2 separate regions of the Homo sapiens genome follow, and region 2 is linked to region 1. Evidence: promoter capture Hi-C in human tissues and cell types (Jung and others, 2019). All regions are on one chromosome and are shown on one strand. Each heading gives the region's core, a stretch centred on a gene start or on the middle of the fragment in contact. The rest is flanking DNA. Distances are from core to core; before and after follow the strand shown. Region 1 holds the start of LRRC37B (leucine rich repeat containing 37B). Region 2 overlaps UTP6 (UTP6 small subunit processome component).

Evidence for each region. The method cuts DNA at HindIII sites, captures the fragments that hold promoters and counts their contacts. A contact is called where the count stands out against the background at its distance.
Region 2: a contact is called between a fragment that was not itself captured here and the fragment with the promoter of LRRC37B in region 1, in 3 of the 25 tissues and cell types used here (H1 embryonic stem cells, hippocampus and mesenchymal stem cells).

The regions. Positions count from the first base shown.
Region 1 is chr17:32,001,572-32,008,803 of GRCh38, forward strand. It overlaps LRRC37B (leucine rich repeat containing 37B), which reads left to right and starts at 5,812. Exons shown (of 15, transcript NM_001321350.2): 1 at 5,812-6,561. It overlaps LOC124903972, which reads right to left and starts at 6,136. Exons shown (of 4, transcript XM_047437248.1): 1 at 5,805-6,136; 2 at 5,036-5,134; 3 at 1,537-1,754; 4 at 73-187. The coding sequence starts at 6,136. The coding sequence ends at 183. RefSeq lists an enhancer at 4,813-5,735 and silencers at 5,778-5,827, 5,868-6,217. The HindIII fragment of the contact is 11,687 bases long and covers 3,582-7,232 here.
Region 2 is chr17:31,885,687-31,892,232 of GRCh38, forward strand. It overlaps UTP6 (UTP6 small subunit processome component), which reads right to left. Exons shown (of 19, transcript NM_018428.3): 7 at 3,599-3,717; 8 at 1,550-1,627; 9 at 294-375. Among named protein-coding and RNA genes, the nearest start is that of UTP6, 13 kb to the right of the region's middle. RefSeq lists an enhancer at 4,257-4,436. The HindIII fragment of the contact is 3,760 bases long and covers 1,312-5,071 here.

The DNA.
Region 1 (7,232 bases), core at 4,562-7,061:
TGACTTACAGTATTGGAGGTTTGAGGAGATGGGGGAGGATGTAGGGAAACCTGACAAACACTGCCTCACCCAGAGGACCAAGGTTAACATCATCAGTGATAAGTCACGACGACGGCATGCACTCTTGATAAGACGAGAACTGCACATCACCTCTGTGGTCTTCCTCCCCAAAATGCAAAAACCTAGGCTAACCATAAGAAAAACCCATAAGGAGGGCTTTCTACAACATACCTAACCAGTACTCCTCCAAACTGTCAAGGCCATCAAAAACAAGGAAAGTCTGAGAAACCGACAGTCTAGAGGAAAACATGATGACTAAATATCATGTGGTATAGGATCATGAGGCAGAAAAAGGACGTCAGGTAAAAACTAAGGAAATCTGAGTAAAGTATGGACTTGAGTTAATAACAGTGTGTCAACACTGGCCCATTAGTTGTAACAAATATCCCACACTAATCTAAGACGTTAATAACGGATAACCAAGTACAGGATATACGGAAACCCTCTACTATCTTTGCAACTTTTATATAAATCTAAAGCTATCCTAAAATTTTAAAGTTTTATTTTTTAAAAGCAAAAAGTTCAAAAAGAATATTTCTTAAAAGCTGGAATGCCAAAAAAGTTTAATAAGATACTTGAATTAAACTAACATTTTGGGGAATATTAGTAATGACCCAAGGCAGAAATAAAACACTAAAATATATAGCATCCCTAATTTATGTGGGAATGAACAAGGTTCTCTTGGGAAAATGAAATACGGAGAACTAAAGTAAAATATACACACAGTCATGCACTGCACAATGTTTCAGTCCACAAGGAACCACATACATGACGGTGATCCCATAAGATTTTATGTAGTACCTTTTTAAATGTTTAGATATGGTTAGATACACAAATACCTACCGTTGTGCTACAGCTGATCACGGGATTCAGTACAGTCACATGATGTGCAGGTTTGCAGCCTAGCAGCAATAGGCTATGCCGTATAACCTAGGTGTGTTGGAAACCCTACCATCTAGGTTTGTGTAAGTGTACTCTATGATGTTCACACAATCGGGACATCGCCAAATGACACATTTTTCAGAATGTATCCCCATCATTAAGCAATGCATGACTGTACTTGAAAATTTTAATCTATTTTTGGCCGGACACGGTGGCTCAAGCCTGTAATCCCAGCACTTTGGGAGGCCAAGGCAGTTGGATCACGAGGTCAGGAGATCGAGACCATCCTGGCTAACACGGTGAAACCTCATCTCTACTAAAAATACAAAAATTTAGCCGGGCATGGTGGCAGTGGGCGCCTGTAGTCCCAGCTTCTCAGGAGGCTGAGGCAGGAGAATGGCGTGAACCTGGGAGGCGGAGGTTGCAGTGAGCCAAGATTGTGCCACTGCGCTCCAGCCTGGGCGACAGAGCGAGACTCCATCTCAAAAAAAAAAAAAAAATTTTTTTTAATCTATTTTCAAATTTTGCAGTGATTTCATACCAACAGTTTAGCTCAGACTTAACAAAAATAAAATGAGAAAATGACCCTCTCACCATTAGCTGTCACCAGAAAGGATTTGTTACTGCCCTGAGCCTTATCGGTCAGGTCTTCAGTTATGTCCATGTGTCGGATTTCTTCATGCATTTCTTCCAGAATTTTGCAGAGTTCTGCTTCCCAATAATCTTTGTCTAGACAGTCAATTAATTCTGCAAGCTGGACCTTTGTGCTGTAGTACCAAATTTTATTTTCATTTTCATTTTCTGTATCTTCTCTGTTTAAAAATGGGGAAATACTTTATATGTTAGACATAATGCCACTTTTCTGACAGTTTCATCTACCCAGTGAAAAGTTAAAGCTTATGCACTAAAACTCAATATATGTGCTCACAAGAGATCCCTGCAGGTCTTACTCAAACTTGATTTACTCTGAGAAAGGACATCTAAAAAACTTGATACAGAGAAAGATGACCTCAAAATTCAGAACCATATGAGAGTACTTTGTGGAAGCCAGTTTCAGCTACATCTCAATCAACTTTAAGATCATCAATGTAACAATATGATGAGCCGAATGTATTTAGAATTATTTTATTTTAATTATTTATTGAGATGGAGTTTTGCTCTTGTCACTCAGGCTGGAGTGCAGTGGCGCGATCTCGGCTCACTGCAACCCCTGGCCTCCCGGGTTCAAGCGATTCTCCTGCCTCAGCCTCCAGAGTAGCTGGGACTACAGGCATGTGCCACCATGCCCAGCTAATTTTTGTATTTTTAGTAGAGATGGATTTGGCCAACATGTTCTTGATCTCCTGACCTTGTGATCTGCCCACCTCGGCCTCCTAAAGTGCTGGGATTATAGGCATGAGCCACTGCACCCAGCCTAGAATTATTTTAGAATAAAATAAATGTATTTTAGAGACAGGGTCTCACTTTGTCACCCAGGCTAGAGTGCAGTGGCACCATCATGGCTCACTGCGTACTCAGACTCCTAGGTTCAAGCAATTCTCCTGCCTCAGCCTCCCAAGTAGCTAGGACTACAGACATGTGCCACCATACCTGGCTAATTTTATAATATAGTTTAGAAATATTTCCATCAAACTGGTGTAAACGCTTTGCTAAGTTCTGGTTCTTGAAGGAGTTATCTCAAATAATATCTCATCCCTTTTCTTCGGGACAATCGAAGCCCAAAATGAAGAGAAGAGCTTCCTCTCCAGCCTAAAACTCTCCTAAGGTTCCATTCACTTTTAATGGATTTAAAGACTTCAACAGAGATGGTCACTAACTTAAAAGAAACAAGGCAAATTAATGTCTAGGACTAGATGTAGAGGAACACACATAATGGTATTTCTGTTCCCACTCAAAAGCAATTCAAGAGTATGTGTGAGGCAATTGATGACAGTGAGTCTGATTTTCCTGTTTCCTCAATGGCAAACTGAGGGAACTGAAAAAACTGGGCTTTTGGAGAGATCTGGCTTTAAATAGGCTAATGTGCTTAGAAGATATGTGGACATGGACAAAACACAACCTCTCTGAGTCTCTAAGACATTTTATTTATCTCACTTGTAAAATGAGGATATAATAAAACCTGCCTGTGTGCCACTATAAGACTTAAAAGTATAATGATGAGGCATCTACCATAGTGCCTGGGCACATTAGTGATCAATAAATGTTAAATATTATTGTTAAGGTAGTAAATGAATAAAAATTCAGCAGCATTACAGGAATGAGTCACTCAGTAATTCTGAAGAAAGAAGGGCTATATTAAATCATAGATAAAAGGATACTGGTGGAGTACCCTTATTCTGAAAATCTGAAATCCAAAATGCTCCAAGGTCCAAAAGTTTTTGAGTGTCAACATGCTGTTCAAAGGAAATGCTCATTAGAGCATTTCAGATTTTCAGATTAGAAATGATCAACTGGTAAGTAGAATGCAAATATTCCAAAAATGCCCAAAACACTTCTGATCCAAAGCATTTTAGGTAAGGATGCTCAACCTATACAGTATTCACTGACTTAACATTTTTCTTCTTGAAGCCACAGAAAGATAAATTCATTAAAGCATAAAGGAGCAAAACAGCAAATACCTGCTAATCCATTCAAAGAAGAGTTGGGTTTTTTTGGTCTATTTTGTTTAACTTTTCTCTTTTTTTTGGTGGGGGGGAGGGGGTGGTGAAGGAGTCTCGCTCTGTTGCCCAGGCTGGAGTGCAGTGGCATGGTCTCCGCTCACCACAACCTCCGCCTTCCAGGTTCAAGCGATTCTCCTGCCTCAGCCTCCTGAGTAGCTAGGACTATGGGCACATGCCACCATGCCCGGCTAATTTTTGTGTTTTAAGTAGAGATGGGGTTTCACTATGTTGGCCAGGCTAACCTCGAACTTCTGGGCTCAAGTGATCCACCCACCTGGCTTCCTAAAGTGCTGGGATTACAGGTCTGAGCCACCACACCTGGCCACCCTCTTCAAACAAAATATGAGCATTTCCATTGGCCTAGGTCTTCACCTTGTCTACTTTATTGACTTACATTACTTACCTAGTCCCTGAAGACATAACACACATTTGCCACCCTTAGAGCTCAACCAAACTGTATTGAATGCATGTATTTGGCAATTAGTGCTTGTATTTTAATTTTCATTTCACATATGTGTTCCATTTTCCTAACTAGATTGAAATAAGCCATCTCCTATTAGGTATTTTTCTTTCTTTTTTAAAAATTTTGAGACAGGGTCTTGCTCTGTCACTCAGGCTGGAGTGCAGAGGTGCAATCATGGCTCAGTGCAACATCCACCTCCCAGGCTCAAGCGATCCTGCCCCCTCACCCTCTGGCGTAGCTGGGACCACAGGTGCGCACCACCATGCCCGGCTAATTTTTCAATTTTTTTCTAGAGACGAGGTCCTGCTATGTTGCCCAGGCTAGTCTCAAACTCTTGACCTCAAGCAATCGTCCGGCTTTGGCTTCTCAAAGGGCTGGGATTGCAGGCATGAGCTATCGCGCCCGGCCAAGTATTTTTGTTTAAATTACTTTTTGGTTGTCACTTATCTCAATAAATATTAACATATGTTTACGAAACCTTTCTTTTTCTTTTTTTTTTTTTTTTTTTTTTTTTTTTTTTGAGACGGAGTCTCGCTCTGTCTCCCAGGCTGGAGTGCAGTGGCGCGATCTCGGTTCACTGCAACCTCCGCCTCCCGGATTTTACGCCATTCTCCTGCCTCAGCCTCCCGAGTAGCTGGGACTACAGGCGTGCACCACCTACGCCCGGCTAATTTTTTTTGTATTTTTAGTAGAGATGGGGTTTCACTGTGCTAGCCAGGATGGTCTCGAACTCCTGACCTTGTGATCCGCCCGCCTCGGCCTCCCAAAGTGCTGGGATTACAGGCGTCAGCCACTGTGCCCGGCAAACCTTTCTCTTATCTGAAGAACTGACCTCAACCACTCAGGGTTGAGTCCCTGTGATAAGGTTTGAGGGTGCCTGAACTGTCACCATGATTCGTCCCCTGGGCTGAGCTCAAACCTAGTGATTTGTCAGGTAAATAAATTAAGGTTATTTCCCGATAATACAGACCTGTAACACCGTGAAGTAGGTTTTAGGCAGGATTCCCTCTTTTCCACTGCAAAGGAGAGGTAAGTTCTTGCTAAGGTGGTCAGGCTCCTAGCTGGGACACTGGGAAGGTGGCGGGAGATTGGAACATGCAGTAGTTGCATTCTGGAGTTTACTGAGGCTTTCCGAGTGGGGATCCCATGCAACAGGTCTTAGGGACCCCCCTCCCTCCAGGCGTGGCAGCCCGGGGTGTGGCTCCTGGCACAGATCCGGAGCAGTTGTCATCGGAGTCAATTCAGGACTCCACTTCCAAGCTTCGGAGTTTCCTAAATTCTGGGGGCTTGTCTCCCTGTACCCCACCCCGACTAATTTTCCTCGGTCGCTGGCGCTGCCCCGTCCCTTAGGTCGCTCGGGCCGCCCCCCTCCGCGACTTTTTTTTTCTTTCTCTCGCTGCCTCTTTCAGCCTCAGTTTCCCTAGAGGGCGGGAGGGGAACGATATTTGGGGGCTCTCCTGCCTTCCTCTCCGAGCCGCGGAAGGGGAGTCGCGGGAAGGAGACCCGGCAGGCTTTGGGCTCCAGCCAGGGGTCCGCGGAGACTGTGGTCTCCGAAGGCCTTAGACGCGGGGCTTGTCAGGAGCTGCGGGCCTCTTTCAGCCGCGCCACCCGCACCCGGAGCGCCGTGCTGCGCCAAGTCCAGGCGCCCCGAGCTCTCCGCCCCCGACTCAATGCTCCCGCGCTCCCCCTAGCGGCCGCCGCGCCACCTCGCCCCCTTCCCAGGCTGGGCGGCGGCGCACCTCACGTGACCGCGCTCCTGTAGAGGGAAGAAACAAGGTGGCGGTTGAAGGCGATCTTGAGTGGGGCCCCAGCAATTCGGTTGAGCCTTCTCCCTCCACTCGCTTCCGCCGGCCGGGCCCCTCCCGCCCAGCCCCTCGGGCCTCCCAACCCGGCCCCGGCGCTCCCCACCGCCGCCACTGCGCCCGGCCCTCCCCGTCAGCTTTCCCTTCTCCCGCCGCCTGGGCTCCAACAAGAGGGGCCGGCGGGGCAGGCCGACCAAGCAGCCCGCGGCTCCCGCTGCGGAGCGCTGCGCCCCGGCCCCGCCGCCGCCGCCGCCCACGTCCGGACCCATCGGGGGCTCCCCTCGCCGATACGCGGTAGTAGCCGGGGCAGGTGGGCAGCCGCCAGGCTGAGGTGGCGCCCAAGACGCGGCTGAGCTCGCCCAGGGTGGGCAGCAGTAGCCGGAGGAAGCCACCGCCGCCGGCCCGCCCCGCGCCGGCACCAGCGCACGGGCCCGGCGGGGGCGCGGGGGCAGCCACCTAGCCCGGACCACCGCAGCCCGGAGGGCTGTCAACAGAGTGGTGTATGATGACTACGAGAGCGAGGAGGAGGAGTAAGAGGAGGGGGGCGGCGATGCCGAGGAGACCCAGGAGTCTGAGGACAACTAGGAGGATGACATGGAGGAGGACGACGATGACTCCGATTATCCGGAGGAGCTGGAAGATGACGACGAGGACGCCAGTTACTCCACGGAAAGCAGCTTCAGCAGCACTCCAGGTACCCACCCAGCGCAGTTGCTGCAGACTCATTCCCCACCTCCTCTCCCCTCCCCCCTTGCTCACTTATGTGCTGTGCATCCCGCTCCGATCTCCCGCCAACCCCGCCGACCCCTAAACTTTAGAGGGGAAATGGGAGGGCACATCAAGTGGCAAAAAACTAGATTTATAAGAGGAAAGAAGCACATTGTTCAAAATGGAGATTGCATTGTTGCAGGCCGCACTCGCTTGCTCCCCGTCCCCCCAACTCCCTTTTTTTCTCCTCAAAATTTGTGCCAGTGCAGTGTCTCCACCGGGCAGGATTGAAACTTTGGCAAACACATATCCATTGCATTCATTTTTCTCCCCTTGTTTTGGTGTGGTTTTCTGGAATGAAAGAAGCCTCTTGTTTTGCAAACCTCTTTGCATTTCTAATGTGTTTCCTTTCGGATTTTCATTATATATCTGTTCCTTAAAAGGGAATTAAGGATTTGTACAGATTGTGGCACACAGACACACAGAAAAACATGCCTGTGTTCACACCCCTAGCTGTGGTTTTTAAATTGTGTTAAGGAAACGGATCATTTTGGTTAGTAGGGGAACTTTACCTGGTCCTGTGTGTTTGTTTTTATTCTTCGAGTGCTGACGGGCTAGTGCAACAGTTGCTGGTAAATGGCTGATTAAAAAGCAAAG
Region 2 (6,546 bases), core at 1,942-4,441, 120 kb before region 1:
CTGAGGCAGGAGAATCACTTGAACCCAGGAAGCAGAGGTTGTGGTGAGCCGAGATCACGCCAATGCACTCCAGCCTGGGCAACAGATCAAGACTCCATCTCAAAAAATAAATAAGTTACTGAAATGTTCAATTATAGCCTAGGAAAAATAAGTATTTTCTGAAAGAAACAGGACACTATTCCTACAGAGTTTTATACACATTCTAATGGAAAATTTCAAAACTAGCTAAAGATCTTCATTAAGAAAAGAATGTTTCACTTTCCTACCAAAAATAATGTTCAAAAGATACCTACCTTTAATTATGCTTACAGAATTTTTGTAGATGATCCATGCCAACTCGCCCTTAAGGATTTCTTCAGAATAATCAGGATTCTCCTAAAGAGTGTTATATCAAACGTAACTTAACAGGTAGTACAAGGAGGAAAAGCACTAGGACGAAAATTAACAATCCTAGACTACCTGTGCCATATGACCACTGGTAAATCATGTCTCTCTCTCCGGGCCAGTTCCCTCACTTGTAAAGTGTGCAGCTTGAACAAGATCACTGACCTTCCAACTGTGTTCTCTGAGGCTCCAAGAGTGGTGGCAAGATCACATGGCTTAAGGCCTCACTCTCCATTTGGACCAAAACAGGTCAGATTTTACATGTCTTGTTTGCGCTTCTCTGTAACATTTTATTTGAATAAAAAAGTCCTGGCCTGGCGTGGTGACTCATGCCTATAATCCTAGCACTTTGGGAAGCCGAGGCAGGCGGATCACTTGAGATCAGGAGTTCATGACCAGCCTGGCCAACATGGCAAAACCCCATCTCTACTAGAAATACAAAAATTAGCCGGGAGTGGTGGCGGGCACCTGTAATCCCAGCTACTTCGGAGGCTGTGGCAGGAGAATCACTTGAACCCGGGAGGCGGAGGTTGCAGTGAGCCAAGATCGTGCCAGTGCACTCCAGCCTGGGCGACAAGGAGCAACACTCCGTCTGAGAAAAAAGTTCTAAGCTGGAAACCACAATAACAGACAATAGCAAAGTTTCTTCTCAGCTCTAACATTCTAAATCTTTTAATTATTCTGTCATATAAAAAATTATATAAAAAGGGAAAGAAAGAAGGCCAGGAAACCACACATTTCACAACCTTTCTCAAGCTCCTTGAATCCATTAATATATCACTTTATGAGATCATACAGCGTTAAAGAATAGTATTTGGCTATTCTGTAAGTAACAATTTTGAGAACCACATTAATTAGTCCAAATATCTATTTTTATAGCATAAAGCTTCATTTTCCTAACTAAGTCCATTTATAAGTAACACTAACTCATCTGGAAGTTTCAAAATGTAACAACATTAAACATTAAAGCTTGAACCCGGAGGCAGAGGTTGCAGTGAGCCAAGATGGTGCCACTGCACTCCAGCCTGTGTGACAGACCGAGACTCCGTCTCAAAAAAAAAGAAAAAAAAAGAAAAATATATTCCAAATATTTTCTCTTACTCCTAAGCAGGCTCAAAATGTTATACATCGTTAGCAAGTGAGAATAAAATAATTAGAACCTTACCACATCCATACTGGCTTTTTCAAATTCTTCCTTCTCCTTCCTCAGTTTTTCAGCATGCATCAGCTCCATCCTAAAGTACTACAGAAGAGAAATAAACTGAAAATCTTTGGAGATGCTTTTTAAAATTTTTTTGAGACAGGGTCTTGCTCTGTCACCCAAGCTGGAGTGCACTGGTGATGACAGCTCATTTCGGCCATGAATTCCTGCACTCAAGTGATCCCCTTGCCTCAGCTTCCTGAGTAGCTAGGATTAGAGGTGCATTCCATCACACTCAGATAATTTTTTTATTTTTATTTTTTGTAGAGACAGGATCTTGCTACGTTGCTGCCTGGCCTGAAACAACTGACCTCAAGTGATCCTCCTGCCTCAGCCTCCCAAAGTGCTGGGATTAAAGGCATGAGCCACCACACCCAGGCTTAACTTTCATTTAAGAATTAAATAGCAGGCTGGGCACGGTGGCTCATGCCTGTAATCCCAGCACTTTGGGAGGCCAGGCGGGCGGATCACTTGAGGTCAGGAGTTCGAGACCAGCCTGCCCAACATGGTAAAACCCCATCTCTACTAAAAATACAAAAGTTAGCGGGGCATGGTGGTGCACACCTATAATCCCAGCTACTTCGGGGGCTGAGGCAGGAGAATCGTTTGAACCCCGGGCGTGGAGGTTGCAGTGAGCCAAGAACACACCATTGCACTCCTGCCTGAGCAACAAGAGTGAGACTCCATCTCAAAAAAAAAAAAAAAAAAAAAAAGAATTAAATAGCAGTTTCTCTTTTATCCTGACAAATGACTCAGAAAACAGTGCAGCTTCCAATACATTCTTTCTCTTATTTGGGATTTTATCTAAAGCTTGGCCCTCAAATGTTCTAAGGCACCATCCATAAGGGAGTAAGTCCCCGAAGAGAGAAAGGAAGTACTACCAGGTATCTATCTCAAGAAAAGGAGACAGAAAGAACATGGAGAAAAGAGGAAGACAAGGCAAAGAAGCCAGAAGAGGGCTTCTTTGGAGAACCAAGGGAACAAGAAAAAAAAATAAAAACAAAAGTATAAAGAGGCTAAATCTGGCTCCCAGCTAAAAAAATGTTAGAGTCTAGTTCCCTATTCCTTCCAACCACAGGAAGGAGGCGGGGGTTCCAACCTCTCAACTAACTTAGAAGCTGCAGTGTCAACACCTACAAAAAGATGTTTTTCCCTGGCCGGGCATGGTGGTTCACACCTGTAATCCCACCACTTTCAGAGGCTGAGGCAGGCAGATCACCTGAGTTCGGGAGTTTGAGACCAGCCTGCCCAACAGGGCGAAACTCCATCTCTACTAAAAATACAAAAATTAGCCGGACGTGGGATCCCACCTACTCAGGAGGCTGAGGCAGGAGAATTGCTTGAACCCAGGAGGTAAAGGTTGCAATGAGCCAAGACCGGGCCACTACACTCCAGCCTGGGAAACAGAACGAGACTCCATCTCAAAAAATAAAAAAGATGTTTGTCCTTACCCACACCTCCACACTTATTCCTAGCCTCCATAAATTGAAGCCTTTTTTATTTAATAAAGAATACATGGGCCGGGCGCAGTGGCTCACGCCTGTAATCCCAGCACTTTGGGAGGTGGAGGCGGGCGGATGACCAGGTCAGGAAATCGAGATCATCCTGGCTAACATGGTAAAACCCCATCCCTAATAAAAAATACAAAAATTTAGCCAGGCATGGTGGCAGGCACCTGTAGTCCCAGCTACTCGGAAGGCTGAGGCAGGAGAATGGTGTGAACCCAGGAGGCAGAGCTTGCAGTGAGCCGAGACCGTGCCACTGCACTCCAGCCTGGGCAACAGAGCAAGACTGTCTCAAAAAAAAAAAGTGAAACCAGCCTGGCCAACATGGCAAAACCCCGCCTCTACTAAAAATACAAAAAAAATAGCCAGGTATGGTGGCGGGCACCTGTAATCCCAGCTACTCGGGAGGCTGAGGCGTAAGAATTGCTTGAATCCAGGAAAAAAAAATATGTCTCCAGAGGACCAAACTGAAACATCACTGTCTCATCCTATGTGCATACACACTCACTTCTTTATAAAGTTTTGGGCACTCTGGATGAAAGCGCAGTGCGCGAAGAAATAGTTGCCTTGCGCTTTCTGAAGACAATCGATCTTCCATTTCCCATTTGGCTGCCATAATCCACAAAGCTGTAAGTGAAAAACCATCAGATTTCATTTCAATAAATTAATCAAGTCAGACAAGAAAAGAACCAAATGATCCAATTTTAATACTCGCACAATTTTTTTTTTTTTTTTTTTTTGAGACAGTCTCACTCTGTCGCCCAGGCTGGAGTGCAGTGACGCAATCTCGGCTCACTACAAGCTCCGCCTCCCAGGTTCATGCCATTCTCCTGCTTCAGTCTCCCGAGTAGCTGGTACTACAGGCACCCGCCACCATGCCCGGCTAATTTTTTTTGTATTTTTAGTAGAGACGGGGTTTCACCATGTTAGCCAGGATGGTCTCAATCTCCTGACCTCGTGATCCGCCCGCCTCGGCCTCCCAAAGTGCTAGGATTACAGGCATGAGCCACTGCGCCCGGCCCACTCAAACAATTTTTTAAAAAAACCTTTAACAAAAGGGGAAGCAGTTCGGACAGACAGTTTCTAACTGCAAAGCTTGGCTACGTTATCTAAAATTAGAAACAGTATTCTGAAGCAAATGAGTAAATGATAACAAATGTTCAATTTAGAGGATGAGTACCTAAGTGTCTGTTACTGTTTTCATCAGATCTAAGGACATTATTGTAAGTCACATACAATTTTTTTCTTTTTTTGAGACAGGGTCTTGCTCTGTTGCTCAGGCTGCAGTGGCACAAACAACAGCTCACTGCAGTCTTCACCTACCAGAATCCCACCTTAGCCCCTCAAGTAGCTGGGACCACATGCATACACCATCACGCCCACCTAAATTTTGTAACTTTGTAGAGATGGGTTTTCACCATGTTGCTCAGGCTGGTCTCAAACTCCTGATCTCAAATGATCTGCCTGCCTCGGCTTCCCAAAGTGCTGGGATTATAGGCATAAGCCACCGTGCCTGGCCCACATACAAATTTTAAAGGTAGTAAAATGCCAGAAAAAGGCCAGGCACAGTGGCTCACACCTGTAGTTCCAGCACTTTGGGAGGCCGAGGCAGGCAGATCACTTGATGTCAGGAGTTTGAGACCAGCCTGGCCAACATGGTGAATCCTCGTTTCTACTAAAAAATACAAAAAATTAGCCAGGCGTGGTGGCACCCTCCTATAGTCTCAGCTATTACGGAGACTGAGGCAGAAGGATCACTTTAACCTGGGAGGCAGAGGTTGCAGTGAGCTGAGATCACACGACTACACCCCAGCCTGGGCGACAGAGCAAGACTCCATGTCAAAAAAAAAAGTCCAGAAAAAACTGCTTATCTTACCACAAATAAAATTATTTTTTGCTCTTTTCTCAATATTTAGAGAAATTATAGGGCAAGCCACAGTGGCTTACTCCTGTAATCCCAGCACTTTGGGAGGCTGAGGTGCACAGATCGTTTGAGGCTGGGAGTTCTGAGACCAGTCTGGCCAACATGGCGAAACCCCATCTCTACTAAAAATACAAAAATTAGCCAGGCGTGGTGGTGCACATCTGTAATCCCAGCTACTTAGAAGGCTGAGGCATGAGAATCACTTGAACCCAGGAGACAGAGGTTGCAGTGAGCTGATATCACACCACTGCACTCCAGCCTGGGCAACAGAGGCAAGACTCTGTCTCAAAAAAATAAAAAATAAAATAAATTATAATTCATAATTTTCTCTAAAACCCTTTGTCCTTCTACATGGGAAATTAACCCTGAGTTAACATTCTAGCTATTTCCCTAGACATTTAATAAAGGTCACCTATCTTATCAAGATTGCTTTTGTTAAAAATGACGCCTGATTGGTAACCACACCTGGAATAGAAGGGTCAGCAATGGTGGCAAGCAATTGCTTTGGGCTTCCTTGAACATGTGACTCCTAAAATTGAGCATGACCTTTCTAGGATCTGTAGAAGCCATGCCCATCCATGGGGCTTCTAAACCAGACTGGATCCCCTACCTACTGATATGATCTCATCTCCTCATACCTGAACAGTCACCTTAGGAACCAGAGGCTACCTCCATTCTGCTAAGAGCATTCTGCAGAAGGAACATACCTAAGGCTATCCTGCTATATTTCTGAGTAAACTGGTGCCAAATGTAGTCTATTTGAGTCTTGTGTGGTATAAGATATCTGATTAAGCCTAATACCCTGAGAATAGGTGCTGAGGCCCCTCCACTATCAACTAGACCATTTATACATTATTCACAAGAGAAATATTTCTCTTACAAAACATGAGTCTACTCTGTACCAGCACTCTTCTAAAATTTATATTGATATTTTCCCCTTTAAGCTTCTAAAATTCCTCAGATTTGACTGCCTCCAAATAAAATGTCCCACAAAGGATTCAAAAGTTTATTTTGCCATCATCTAAAAAGAAATACAGTCTGGCCGGGAGTGGTGGCTCACGCCTGTAATCCCAGCACTTTGGAAGGCCAAGGCGGGTGGATCACGAGGTCAGGGGTTCGAGAGACCAGCCTGACCAACGTGGTAAAACCCAGTCTCTACTAAAAATACAAAAATTAGCTGGGCGTGGTGGCGGGCACCTGTAATCCCACCTACTCAGGAGGCTAAGGCAGGAGAATTGCTTCAACCTGGGAGGCGGAGGTTGCAGTGAGCCAAGATCACACCACTGCCCTCCAGCCTGGGCGACAGAGCGAGACTCCGTCTCAAAAAAAAAAGAAATACAGTCCTTCTTGCCTGCAGATACAACACCTAGGACAGTAACTAGTATATAGTAGGCAGGGGTGAACTATGAGGCAGCTATTCAGTAAGAAAAACTGCTGAGGCCAACTGCCTAAGCTCAAGTCCTCAAAATAATTTCTCTTAGATTCATCAATCGAAATAAAATCCAAAATGGCTTGAGTCTAAATAAAACATA